2 separate regions of the Homo sapiens genome follow, and region 2 is linked to region 1. The links are contacts of gene promoters, found by promoter capture Hi-C in blood cells and fetal thymus (Javierre and others, 2016). All regions are on one chromosome and are shown on one strand. The core of a region is centred on a gene start or on the middle of the fragment in contact, and the rest is flanking DNA. Distances in the headings are between cores, read along the strand shown.

What was found. The method cuts DNA at HindIII sites, captures the fragments that hold promoters and counts their contacts. A CHiCAGO score of 5 or more calls a contact.
Region 2: a fragment that was not itself captured here is called in contact with the fragment with the promoter of COA1 in region 1 in 15 of 17 cell types (naive CD4 T cells, naive CD8 T cells, naive B cells and 12 more); the score reaches 17.8 in naive CD4 T cells.

The regions. Positions count from the first base shown.
Region 1 is chr7:43,726,833-43,732,819 of GRCh38, forward strand. It overlaps COA1 (cytochrome c oxidase assembly factor 1), which reads right to left and starts at 2,691. Exons shown (of 6, transcript NM_018224.4): 1 at 2,597-2,691. RefSeq lists enhancers at 1,977-2,706, 2,707-3,435, 2,802-3,001. The HindIII fragment of the contact is 9,306 bases long and covers 1-3,344 here.
Region 2 is chr7:42,921,332-42,927,318 of GRCh38, forward strand. It overlaps PSMA2 (proteasome 20S subunit alpha 2), which reads right to left. Exons shown (of 8, transcript NM_002787.5): 3 at 5,205-5,337; 4 at 3,344-3,466; 5 at 1,994-2,075; 6 at 527-600. Among named protein-coding and RNA genes, the nearest start is that of PSMA2, 7.8 kb to the right of the region's middle. The HindIII fragment of the contact is 5,758 bases long and covers 1-5,729 here.

The sequences.
Region 1 (5,987 bases), core at 1,441-3,940:
TCAATTACAAAAAAGAACCTAATTTAAAAATGGGCAGAGGATCTGAGTACACATTTCTCCAAAGAAGATAAATAAATGGGCAATAAGCACTTGAAAAGATGCTCAACATCATTAGCCATCAGGGAAATACGATTTGAAACCATAATATTTTCAAAAAGTTAGGAGATTTTTAATGGTCGCAACACAAAGAAAAGATGAACGTTTCAGGTGGTGGACATACTAATTACCTGATTTGATCACTACACATTGTATACATTTATCAAAATATCACTCTGTAGTCCCTAAATATGTACAATTATTACATGTCAACGAAAAAGAATGAAAACACAATGACACACACTTCACACCCACTGGAATGGCTAGAATCAGAAAGACAGATAATGACAAGTGTTGGCAAGGAGTGAGAAATCAAAACCCTAATACACTACTGGTGCGAATGTTAAAAAGATGCACACTGATGCTTTGGAAAACAGTCTGACCATTTCTTAAAATGTTAAACAGAGCTACCATATGACCCAGCCATTTCACTCCTAGGCACATACGCAAGAGAAATGAAAACATGATGTCCACACAAAAACTTGTAGGTGAATGTTCACAGCAGCATTACACATAATGGCCAAAAGGTGGAAACAATCCAAACGTCCACTAACTAATGGAAAATAAATCGTGGTAATACCCATAAAAGATTAACCAGCAATAAAAAAAAGTACTGACACATGCTATTAAATACAACACAGATGAACATGAATGTTAAGTAAAAGAAGCCAGTTGAAAAAGACCACATGCTGTATGATTTCACTCACATGAATAATCCAGAATAGTCAAATATACAGTCAGTCAATTCATAGTTGCTTAGGGCTTAGAATGGGGAGTGGGGATGGGGAAGTCAGGTGAGCCTGCTGAATAAGTACAGGGTTTCCTTTTGGAGTGATGAAAATGTTCAATTGTTCCAATATGGCTCTCACAAACTGAATGCAGCATATTAAACATGAACAAAAGAATACAAGAATAACTTATTGGAGTCTGTCTGAAATAGAAAATTAAACCAACTAATGAAGGTGAAGAAGATTACAGCATATTTTATGATGATGGTTGTACAACTTTGTGAATGTACTAATGTACTAATTACTTTTAGGTTTTCTTTCTTTTTTTTTTTTTTTGAGATGGAGTCTAGCTCTCTCGCCCAGGCTGGAGTGCAGTGGCGCAATCTCGGCTCACTGCAAGCTCCACCTCCCGGGTTCACACCATCCTCCTGCCTCAGCCTCCCAAGTAGCTGGGACTACAGGCTCCCGCCACCACGCCCGGCTAATTTTTTGTATTTTTAGTGGAGACGGGGTTTCACCGTGTTAGCCAGGACGGTCTTGATCTCCTGACCTCGTGATCCACCCGCCTCGGCCTCCCAAAGTGCTGGGATTACAGGCGTGAGGCACCGCTACGTTTTAAATGGTGAACTCTACGGTAGGTGAACTATGTGTCAGGAAGCTGTTTTATTTTTTTAAAGGACTGAAGACTTTTGTTTTGTGTTTTGTTTTGTTTTCATTTTATCCCGTTTTTAAAACAGTGCCTAGCAATATTATGAATTCAATCGATTTTGGCTAAATGCTAGAACAAAAATTAAAACTTGAGTAAACCATATAAAACTTTGCCATATCTAAAGTTATTAAATTACCGTAGACTGGCATGGTGGGAGCATAATATGAGTGTACCTGCAGGTGTGTTTTCCATGAAAGTAGCAAAGACTGAAAAACTCAGCAGAATCAAGACCCTGTAGGCCCTTGAAGTTAGGCTAAGAAATGTGTATTATCCTGAAAGCAACGGGAAGGCCAGGAAGATTCTGAGGACAGAAATAACACAATCTGATATGCGTTTTAAACGTGCAGGTGTAAGCGGAGAGTTGCTACTTCTATCCAAACGTGAGCCACCTCAGAAATAAAGCAATAGCCCTCCGGGGAGAATGGGGAGGAATCAGGGGAAGACCGGAGAAACAGGTTATCAAATTATCAGAATCTCCATAGATTTTTTTAAATTACACAGCATCCACCCCCAAACACACATACAGACTGATAGGCACTGATATATACATAAATACATCCAATGTCCCCTACACAGAAAATCACTTTTGCAGTCAGCCCCTGTTGGGAGGGTTTTTCTGTTATTCAAGTGTGGTGGGGACAAAAAGTATTATAACCACTAAACCAGGTAATTCTTTCCTACAATAATTTGGGCAGCGTACTCCTCAGGGTGTTGAAATTTAGCACTACCAACAAAAGTGCCCAGTCCCAACTCTTCGAGAGGACCCTAACTCTTTACAGTGTGCTGTTGGGGATGGTCAGCAAAAACTGCAGGACAAGGTCAAGGTTAGCTCGACACAGCCTCCTAACTCCGAGCGGACGGAGCCACTGAAGGTTACCAGGTGCCAAAGAAGCTGCGCAGGGAGGCCGCGACCCGGCGCCGGCGCGAACCTCCGCGATGTGACCCGTGAGGGAACTCTCCAAGAAGCAGCGCACCCCGCGCGCAAAGGCGGCCCCCCGAATTGCAGGAACAAACGCTTCTTGCTGGGGGGAAGACGGAGACTCTTATACCGCGGGAGACTAACCTGTGAGCAACAGAAGCACCACGCTACAAAGAGCATGACGAGTTCTTCCAGGCTTGGGAAAGCACGGGTAAATGCCCGCGGTCCTGCGCGCCAGCGGGGAGCAGTAGAGACTTCCGGCGTCGGCTGCTCGCAGGGCTAGAGCGTCGAACCGGGACAACCGGAGGCTTCAGCTCACCTCGGATTGTAAATGCTAACACGGGTCCTCCGGCCGGCTGATCCAGAACTTAGGTCGCCGGGACGTGTGGCTTCTGCTTCTCAGACGCTCGGACTCGCGCCGGGAAGGGTTTCGCCTCCCCTGGTCCCCGCTTTTTTTTTTTTTTTCTGCGTCCGGTTATTGCAAATGCATTCAGTCCAGTAGCACTAGCCCAGGAAATATAAGCCACCGGCTCACGTTGCTCCTCACAGGTATGCGGCGCTTCCGCTGGCCTCCAAGGACACGAAGCCCCGGGCCGTCTGGCCCCCCACTCTAGCACTGAAATTCCTGCCGCCCCGTTCAGCTGACAAATTTGGCAGCACTAAATTTTATTTTATTCGACAAATTAAGTACCCAGTTAACACCAGGGAGTAACGGGGTAAGAAAATTTCAGAAGGCTGGTGGATAATAATAGCATTTACCTCATAAATTTGTTATGAGGATGTGAAGCACTTAGAGTAGTGTCTGGCAGTTTGTAGGCGCTCAGTAACTGTTAGCTGTTATTATTTTTATATTGATTATTCCATAGTCACCACTATTATCACCTTAATGTCAAGCTTGAAATCCAGTATCTTTCCTCTGCGAAGCCATCACTCCAAGACTAATTAACTTTAGACTGGGGCATTCTTCTTTAAACTCTTGCTCACACATCCCTATCAGAAAAAATATATATATATTTACATGTGTCATGTATGGCATTAATATATTATGCATGCTATAAAACTCACAAGACATCAAACTTTTGATGAGGTAAAAACAATTTTTAAACTTTTTTAAAAACTTCTAACAGAAGTTCTTTTCTTCCTCCACAACAATTAGGTTGCCAAACATACATTCTATCACTCTGGAATCCACTAGCTAAATGAGCACATTATCAAAGCAACCTACCGCTGAATTCTGACTTCCCAGAATGTTTCTTTTCCAAAGAATTAATAGAAACTAATCAGATTGTGAAGTGCTCGGCCATAAGGACTATTTAAATGGTTCTTAGAGAAAAAGAAGAAATAAAATAGGCATCCACTGAGTAATATTCATTGATGCAACATTGATTATTGACTTATTACATTTTCAAAGAGATTGAGGTTATAATACCTTACACCAAGCTTAATATTTCAAAGAATAAATCAACTAATAAAAAGCTTATGAGGTTTGGTATATGTGCATTTCATACAACGTTCATGAAAATGAACCCGAGATCAATTAGCTCCCGTTCTGTACCAGAAAGAGAAATATGTTTACTTTGTAAGTAATAAAACATTAAATAGGCTTTTCTGACCATTTGCTTGAAAACTCAGAACTTAACATTTCTATCACTGGACTTAAATCTGCTAAAGTTTTCGTCTAAATTTTACATTAAAAACAAAACTCTATAGTGAATAATGTTACCTATCCAATATTCATTTTCCTCTAACTCCTTTGTACCAAAATCCTTATTTTATTCAGATAGCTGCCCTGTTCCCAGAATCAAAATGATACTGATTAAACCAGTCATCACACAGAATTTTTTTGTCGTCTAAATTTTACATTAAAAACAAAACTCTATAGTGAATAATGTTACCTATCCAATATTCATTTTCCTCTAACTCCTTTGTACCAAAATCCTTATTTTATTCAGATAGCTGCCCTGTTCCCAGAATCAAAATGATACTGATTAAACCAGTCTTCACACAGAATTTTTTTGGAAATAGTTGCTAATCAAGGAACGAGTATATGACCCAGGTTGGCGCAATCTGACTGAAGGAAAGGACCTCTATTTCATGCTCAGGAGAAAGTTTCTGATATACTGTCCTCTTGACGTCGAAACATCTATCCCACACTGTCATTAGTAGCCATCTTGCCCATCACAAGGAATAAAACTGATGGACCAATGCTGAGGACAACTGAACAAGTTATAAAACAATGTCCTTGGTGACATCATTCCAAACCTGGAGCTCACCCTGTATCTGAATGCCTTGTAGGAATGTCTAATAAGTTTCCTTATTGTTTTTGTTTTCTGTTTTTCTGAGACTGAGTCTCACTCTGTCGCCCAGGCAGGAATGCAGTGGCATGATCTCAGCTCACTGCAACCTCTGCCTCCCGGGTTCAAGCAATTCTCCTGCTTCAGCCTCCCAAGTAGCTGTAACTACAGGCATGCACTGCCACGCCTGGCTAATTTTTGTATTTTTAGTAGAGAAGGGGTTTCACCATGTTGGCCAGGCTTCTCTTGAACTCCTGACCTCAGTGATCCACCCACCTTGGCCTCCCAGAGTGCTGGGATCCTTACTGTTTTCTGATAGAGATGCCATAAAGATTAAATGGGTTAAAATAGTGCTGGTCATATTGTAAGTATTTTAAGTGCTTAATAAATTTTAGTTATTATTAACTCACCTTAAGTCAGGGATTCTGTTTCTTATAGCCAAAATTACCCATCAAAATACACATTCTACCTCTCTTTTTCTATATATTTAAAGAAAGGGTCTGTTTTGATACTTTTAAACTAAGGAGCCAGGGAAGGGGTAGGAGGTGAAGAGAGGAGGGGCTGACTATAATGCTGTATGAGGGCTACTGTTAAGTGGTTAAATGGCTGCTTTGAGATTCACTCAAGAGCAGCAGGATCCTATAACTATCAAATCTGAATGAGGTTACTACACATCGTAGTTGTATGTATACATGAAAGTATCATTTCCTGCATATTAATATTGTGATCCACTGCCTTACTAAGTTGCTTTATTGTTTGGAGTTCATTCTGGTAGAATTTCTAAGATTGCAATCTTATCATTGAAATAGTTTTACCTACTTCTTTCCAAGTTTTATACCTCTACTTTCTCATATCTAATTGTTTTGGCTAGTATCTCCAGTAAAATATTTAATAATAATAATGACAGTAGACTTTTATGTCTTATTCCTATCTTTAATGAGATATCTTTAGAATTTTCCCATTAAGCATGATGCTGGTTTTAAGGACTGAAGTAGACATCTTTTATCATGTTAAGGAACTATCCACCTATTGAGAGAAAGAAGAAAATTTTGGCATAAGAGCTTTGAGAAAACAAAGCATTGAGCGTGCCATAATGTCCTGTCATAAAAATAAGTAAAAGTTAGACAGTATTTACCTCAAAGACACTGAGAAAATTAACATTAGCTAGGTTGGTATGAATGTCCTTTCTTGCTTATCTTACTACCAGCATGAAATTCAGTCCTGCCTAGTTTGTTTACAAG
Region 2 (5,987 bases), core at 1,601-4,100, 810 kb before region 1:
ACACTGAGACTAGAATACAGCTGGAAATAAGTAAGAGCAGCTTGTACTTGGGCACCGACAGATTTTTACATAGTGCTCCACTTTTTATCAAGCACATGTATCAAATATTTAATATACCTTCAACTCCAGGCATTTGGTTTCACAATTTTTTTTACTGTCGTAAACTGTTATCATTAAATCATTTAAAAATTTGTCTCCCCAAATGTTTTATTCCAGATTCAATGTTCTTTTTTTTCCCTCCTGAAATGGCACAAAAAGTGAAGTAAAAAGTAAAAAAACCAAAAGCATTTAGGAAACCATAGAATGTAGAAAGAGAACTCCTTAGGAAATGAATATTAATTACCACTTAATATACTGAAGTCTAGGAAACTAGAAGGGAGAGAAGTTTTTGGTTTATCTGTAACTAGATTCATATACAGAGTAATATAGCAAGTTTCTTTAGTCCCATGATATTAATTTACTTAAAGAGCACCAAAAACCATAAAGTGAGTTTGCTAAAGAATGCAGTTACAATGAGTAGGCCTACCTTTTCTCAAGGAAAGTCTTCCCATTCACATAGTTCTTTCCCATTGCTGTAGCTTTCCAGGCAAAGTAAGCTCCCTAATCAGGAAAGAAAGAGTAAAAAACCATATTTTAAAACACAAATACAATTATATTGCCCTGCCATTTAATTTTTAGCTTTATTAATTGTTCTCTAACTTCGAAGGTCACAGAATATTATTAGAATGGAAAACGTCACAGAATAGGTTATTTTTTAAGAAGGCTAGAAGGATGGAAACCAAAAAGGCATGAAGAAACTTTTGGAGGTTCTGGAAATTTTTGATATCCTCATTGTAGTAATGGTTTCTTCAGGCATTTACATATATCAGAACTCATCAAACTGATGAGCTGGTGATGATGCAATTAAGTGTAAAATTATGTAAAAAATCCAGTTAAAAGAAATTGAGGTTAACTTAAAGCAAATAATCAAGAGTAGTATTTTAGTTTAATAGACTGAAGCGATTTAAAAATCTATCATATAAATCTGAAAAATGGTGATCAACTCTTGATCATTAGTGAATTAAAAAGAGAGCATCTCATTAGAAAAAAATACCAAAAGAAACATAATCCAATATGTTTTAAATGAAAACAATTGTTTTTTAGACACAACAGAGGAAAATAGGACAAAAGATAAAATCAGGATTCCAGAAATGGTGGCTTCTGCTACCTTCTGGAAAGGAAGATAAGAGGGCCTGTCATTTAGCTTTGGAAGCTCAGAGATGGAGTAACAACACTATCAAAGTTCCCAAAATACTTATTTTTCTGATTTAATTAACAACCAAAATATTTTTCTTTTGCCATCTCAGGTTATAAAAGTAGATTATAAGGTTTGCATTGAGTGAACCTGTAATTATCTAATAATCCATAAAACATGAAAGATCATTTCCTAATCTTGAATTTTGTCTTAAGGTTCTCATAGCAAATGGGACAGATGTGGAGTAGTATTATCCATTACAAACACCTTCTATTCAGATACCATTCTTCTGCATTAGAGCAGACAACTTACCCAAGGTACCAATTACACAATCATTTTTGCAAAACACTGAATTCAAGATAAATTAATGTTTTTGCTGGAAAACTCACTCAAGTCAGCCCCAAGATTCAACTGATGGCAAACACTACAACACTGTCCTCCAGATCCACATCTTCAATTGCAGTATTTCCCGAAGTAACAGGTTTAAATACATTTGATAACTATTTCAACAAATCACCCAAGTGTATGAAGTTAATGAACATGGCAAAAGAGGGTAGAACTAATACAGCTTCCTTATCAGAAGACCAAATTACCAAAATTTTAAATATACACACAAAAATGCACAACCTCATACTTTCTAAAGCCCAAGAGAAAAGAAGAAAATACTGCTAAATTGTAAAGTTTTTATGGCTTCTATTTCTGTTAGATATTCAAAGAGCACTTTTAACAAATCCCTCAAATACATTAAATGATACTTACAGATGGATCTGACTGAAATAAATATGGTCGTCCCTCATTCCAACCACAAATAAGTAAAGAAACTCCAAATGGACGAACACCACTGCAGGGAGGAAAATGAAAATTACTTGGCATTTTCATGGTGTTAAAGTCATCCTCAAGAATTTATCAGTACTCTCAAATAAAGCAAATTATCAGGCAAACTGAATTAGACTTTTAAGTTCCTTAGAAAGTATTTAACACCTTTCTGAATGAATCAATTCAAAACTAATTCTCTTTATGGTAGTGAGGAATGGTAGCCAAATAAAAAAAAATTTGAATTGAACAGTGTTACCTAAGACACTGGGGTTAATAAGTGTGTAGTAACATTTAGTGTCCTAATAAAATGACAACTTTCAATTAATGCAGCTTTTCCACTAGGTTTACCTATTACAAAATGACAACTTTCAGTTAATGCAGCTTTTCCACTAGGTTTACCTATTACAAAATGACAACTTTCAATTACTGCAGCTTTTCCACTAGGTTTACCTATTACAAAATGACAATTTTCAGTTAATGCAGCTTTTCCACTAGGTTTACCTATTACAAAATGACAACTTTCAGTTAATGCAGCTTTTCCACTAGGTTTACGTATCAACAACTACCTATATGCTATCTCATCTACACCCAAACTTAAGAAACTGGGGAATGAAAAGAAATATGAATACGTCCAAGAGCTGCTTTCATCATGTGCTTACCATCATTTCTGGTTAGAAAGATAAATTTGAAAGTAGCGGCCAGGCACAGTCCCAACACTTTGGGAGGCCAAGACAGGCAGATCACTTGAGGTCAGGAGTTTGAAACCAGCCTGGCCAACATAGTGAAACCACATCTCTACCAAAAAAATACAAAAAAAAAAAAAAAATTAGCTAAGCATGGTGATGCACGCCTGTGGTGCCAGCTACTCAGGAGGCTGACGCATAATTGCTTGATCCCAGGAGGCAGAGGTTGCAGTGAGCCGGGATCATGCCATTGCACTCCAGCCTGGGCGACAGAGTGAGACTCTGACTCAAAAAAAAAAAAAAAAAAAAAAAAAAGAAAAATTTAAAGTTGCAATGATTGTCTGTCCATAAAGTGTTTTAATCACTGGCAAAAGAACTTTGTATATCTAGAAGCTGCTTTCTGCTGTTACATAAGCAACAAGAAAACACATTTTTTTCCTTAAATAAATACTCCAGAGCCAGATAAGATCAGAAATATTCATCATAGTGATTCTGTCCACTTGTTAAGCAAATACAGAAATGGTAAGTCCCACTCTATTTATATACCTACTCTTTAAAATAACTTCCCCCTACAATTCATGGCACATTTCAAGTAAAAAAAGCAACTTACCCTGACTGAGTATATTCTTGCATCACAGAAGCTACTCTCTGTACCAGCTGAGCTGTAGGAATGGGTTCTTGGTACACAAGATAGTATTGTTGAGCTAGTTTTCGAGCTCTGTGCACAAGCACTCTAACAAGGAAAAAATAAGATTTAATTACACAGAACATGCTCTACTACCTGAAGACTCATTCTCCTTTTACAGGCATGTACCTGCAGCACAAGTTTAACATGTATCTCTTTAATGGTGGCTATTGGATCAAAGCTAGTCTTACTCTAACACTGGATTCCAGTTGATATAGAAGAAAATATCAGAGCATCAGAGTACCAGTTAGCTTAAAAGTAACAGATTTAATGTACAAAAATGAGAACTTTATCTTGCTCCACGGCTTCTTCAAGACTGTACCCCCATCCAAGGGCAGCCGCTTGTCTTTTTACAGCTCACCCCAGCCCACACACACAAGCACACATAAACACACAGGCACACAATTCTGGGCATATTTTTCTCACTTCAGGTCACTACTTTCTGCAGACTGTTTCAATCTCTCTGCCTGTGCTTCACGGAGTACCCTTCAGAGATTAAGAAACAGTAAGAAACTACTTGTAACTAAAAATGTAAAATTCGGCTAGGTGCAGTGTTTCACGCCTGTAATCCCAACACTTTAAAAGGCTGAGGCAGGAAGATCACTTGAGGCCAGGAGTTTCAGACCTGCCTGGGCAAGACCCTGGGTTACTTTAAAGAGAATAACTCAGATGTGAAAGAGGAGGGAGATAGAGTACATAACTCCTCTTTTCTCTGTTTAATGGACTTTCCTTTCTGACATATTCCTCTTCTACTATACAGGAACTGGGCATAAGGCTTTAGTTTTCTCCAGTGCAGTTTAAAATGATAAAAGCAATACCCAGCATGACCCTGTCTCTTAAAATTTTTTTTCAGAAGTAAAATTTGTCAAAAGAGATTAAGAAGATATTATATAACAATCAAATATATTAGCAAGACAAATAGGATTTATCTTTGCCAGCTCATATACTACTGATCTGAAATATGCACATTTTCCCTCTGTGTGACAGTCATGTCCCATCCCTCAGTTTATCCTATCAGTGGCAGCACAATGCAGTATCCAGCCTATATAGTGGTGACAAGATTCACTGCCTGATCACATTCCACTGACCTTGTTGCGTTGATTCACTGAAGTGAAACTTTGCCTCTACCTATCTTGCTCCACAAAATCATGAGCAATAAAGTAATACTCCTTTTACTTGTTTAAATGACAGACACAGAAAGCTGTCAATCTCTTTCAACTTGCTGGTACCCTGAGTAACAAGATTATTCTCTCTTCCTGTGAAATATAAAGGGGGTGATTACACAAGCATTGGGATCCTGGTTGGCTGCCACACTCAACAACTTGCAGTGGTGTTTGAGAATTTTGTTCCTTTGTGAAGAACAGGAAAAAAGATAACTCTGGATAGTGATACTTTCTTTTGTTGCCTCATACTTTTTAAAATATAGTTTATTATAACTTAAATTGCTTTTATCATTTTTAAACTGCACTGGCGAAAACTAAAGCCCTTACGCCCAGTTCCTGGATAGTAGAAGAGGAATATGTCAGAAGAGAAAGTCCGCTGAACAGAGAAAAGAGGAGTTATGTAATCTATCTACCTCCTCTTTCACATCTGAGTTATTCTCTTTAAAGTAACCTATACAGGCAAACTAAATTCAGCTCTCAACGAGGCTGCTATTGCTAAACAAAGCACACAAAAAAAGAGGAACTGGAAGATTAAAGGAAAACAACCTTGGTTTTTCTCCTGAAAATACAGATTACAATCAATTCATGAGATGGTGAGAAACACTATAAAAAGTATAAAGTACCTGTAATCGGGGCCCATGCCACTGTACACCAAACCTATATGCTTGGTAATTGGTTCTACTTTGTGTACACTTCGCTCATCATACAGAATGGATTTCTGTTTTTTCTCAGTTGCTAATACCACACCATTTGCAGCTTAAAAAAAAAGAGAGAGACATAAATGTTTAATCATTTTTAAGACTGTTTTAACAGCTTTCTAATTATGGATGCGCTAAACGCAAACTCCTTTATTTCCTTTAATTTATAAAACCTTTTCTTCCGGAGTCCTATTACCAAAATTACCTAAGAAATGGTAAGTCAGTTTTTCCCTCACTGGTCATTTAGTACTACACAAAAAAATCCTCCCTACAGCTAAAGGTATTACATAAACTTTTGTAAAGCACTCTAAGGATACCTGAGAGTTCACATGTTTTAAAATAAGGGATTTCTGTCTACTTGTCCCAATATTCTTATAACATGAAATTTACAATAAATGATACAGGCTTTTAAAGTGAAACACAACACATTTAGCTTATGTTTTATAATTAAGCTTTCCTAAATTATAAGGATAAAAACTGCCAGGAAGTAGTGATATAATCAGTGGAAAAACAAAAAAAGAACTCAGTTTTCTGAATGAGAAAGACTATTGTGAATATCACAACTAACAGATAAAGGTGTTACTATTTACTTTGAAAAGAAATTTGAATGACCTTAGACTTATTACTATTTAAACTCCAAAACACTGTAAATTAACAAAAAATTGTTAAAAATTATACTGCTGCAGCTCTGTATAAATTAATTACTAA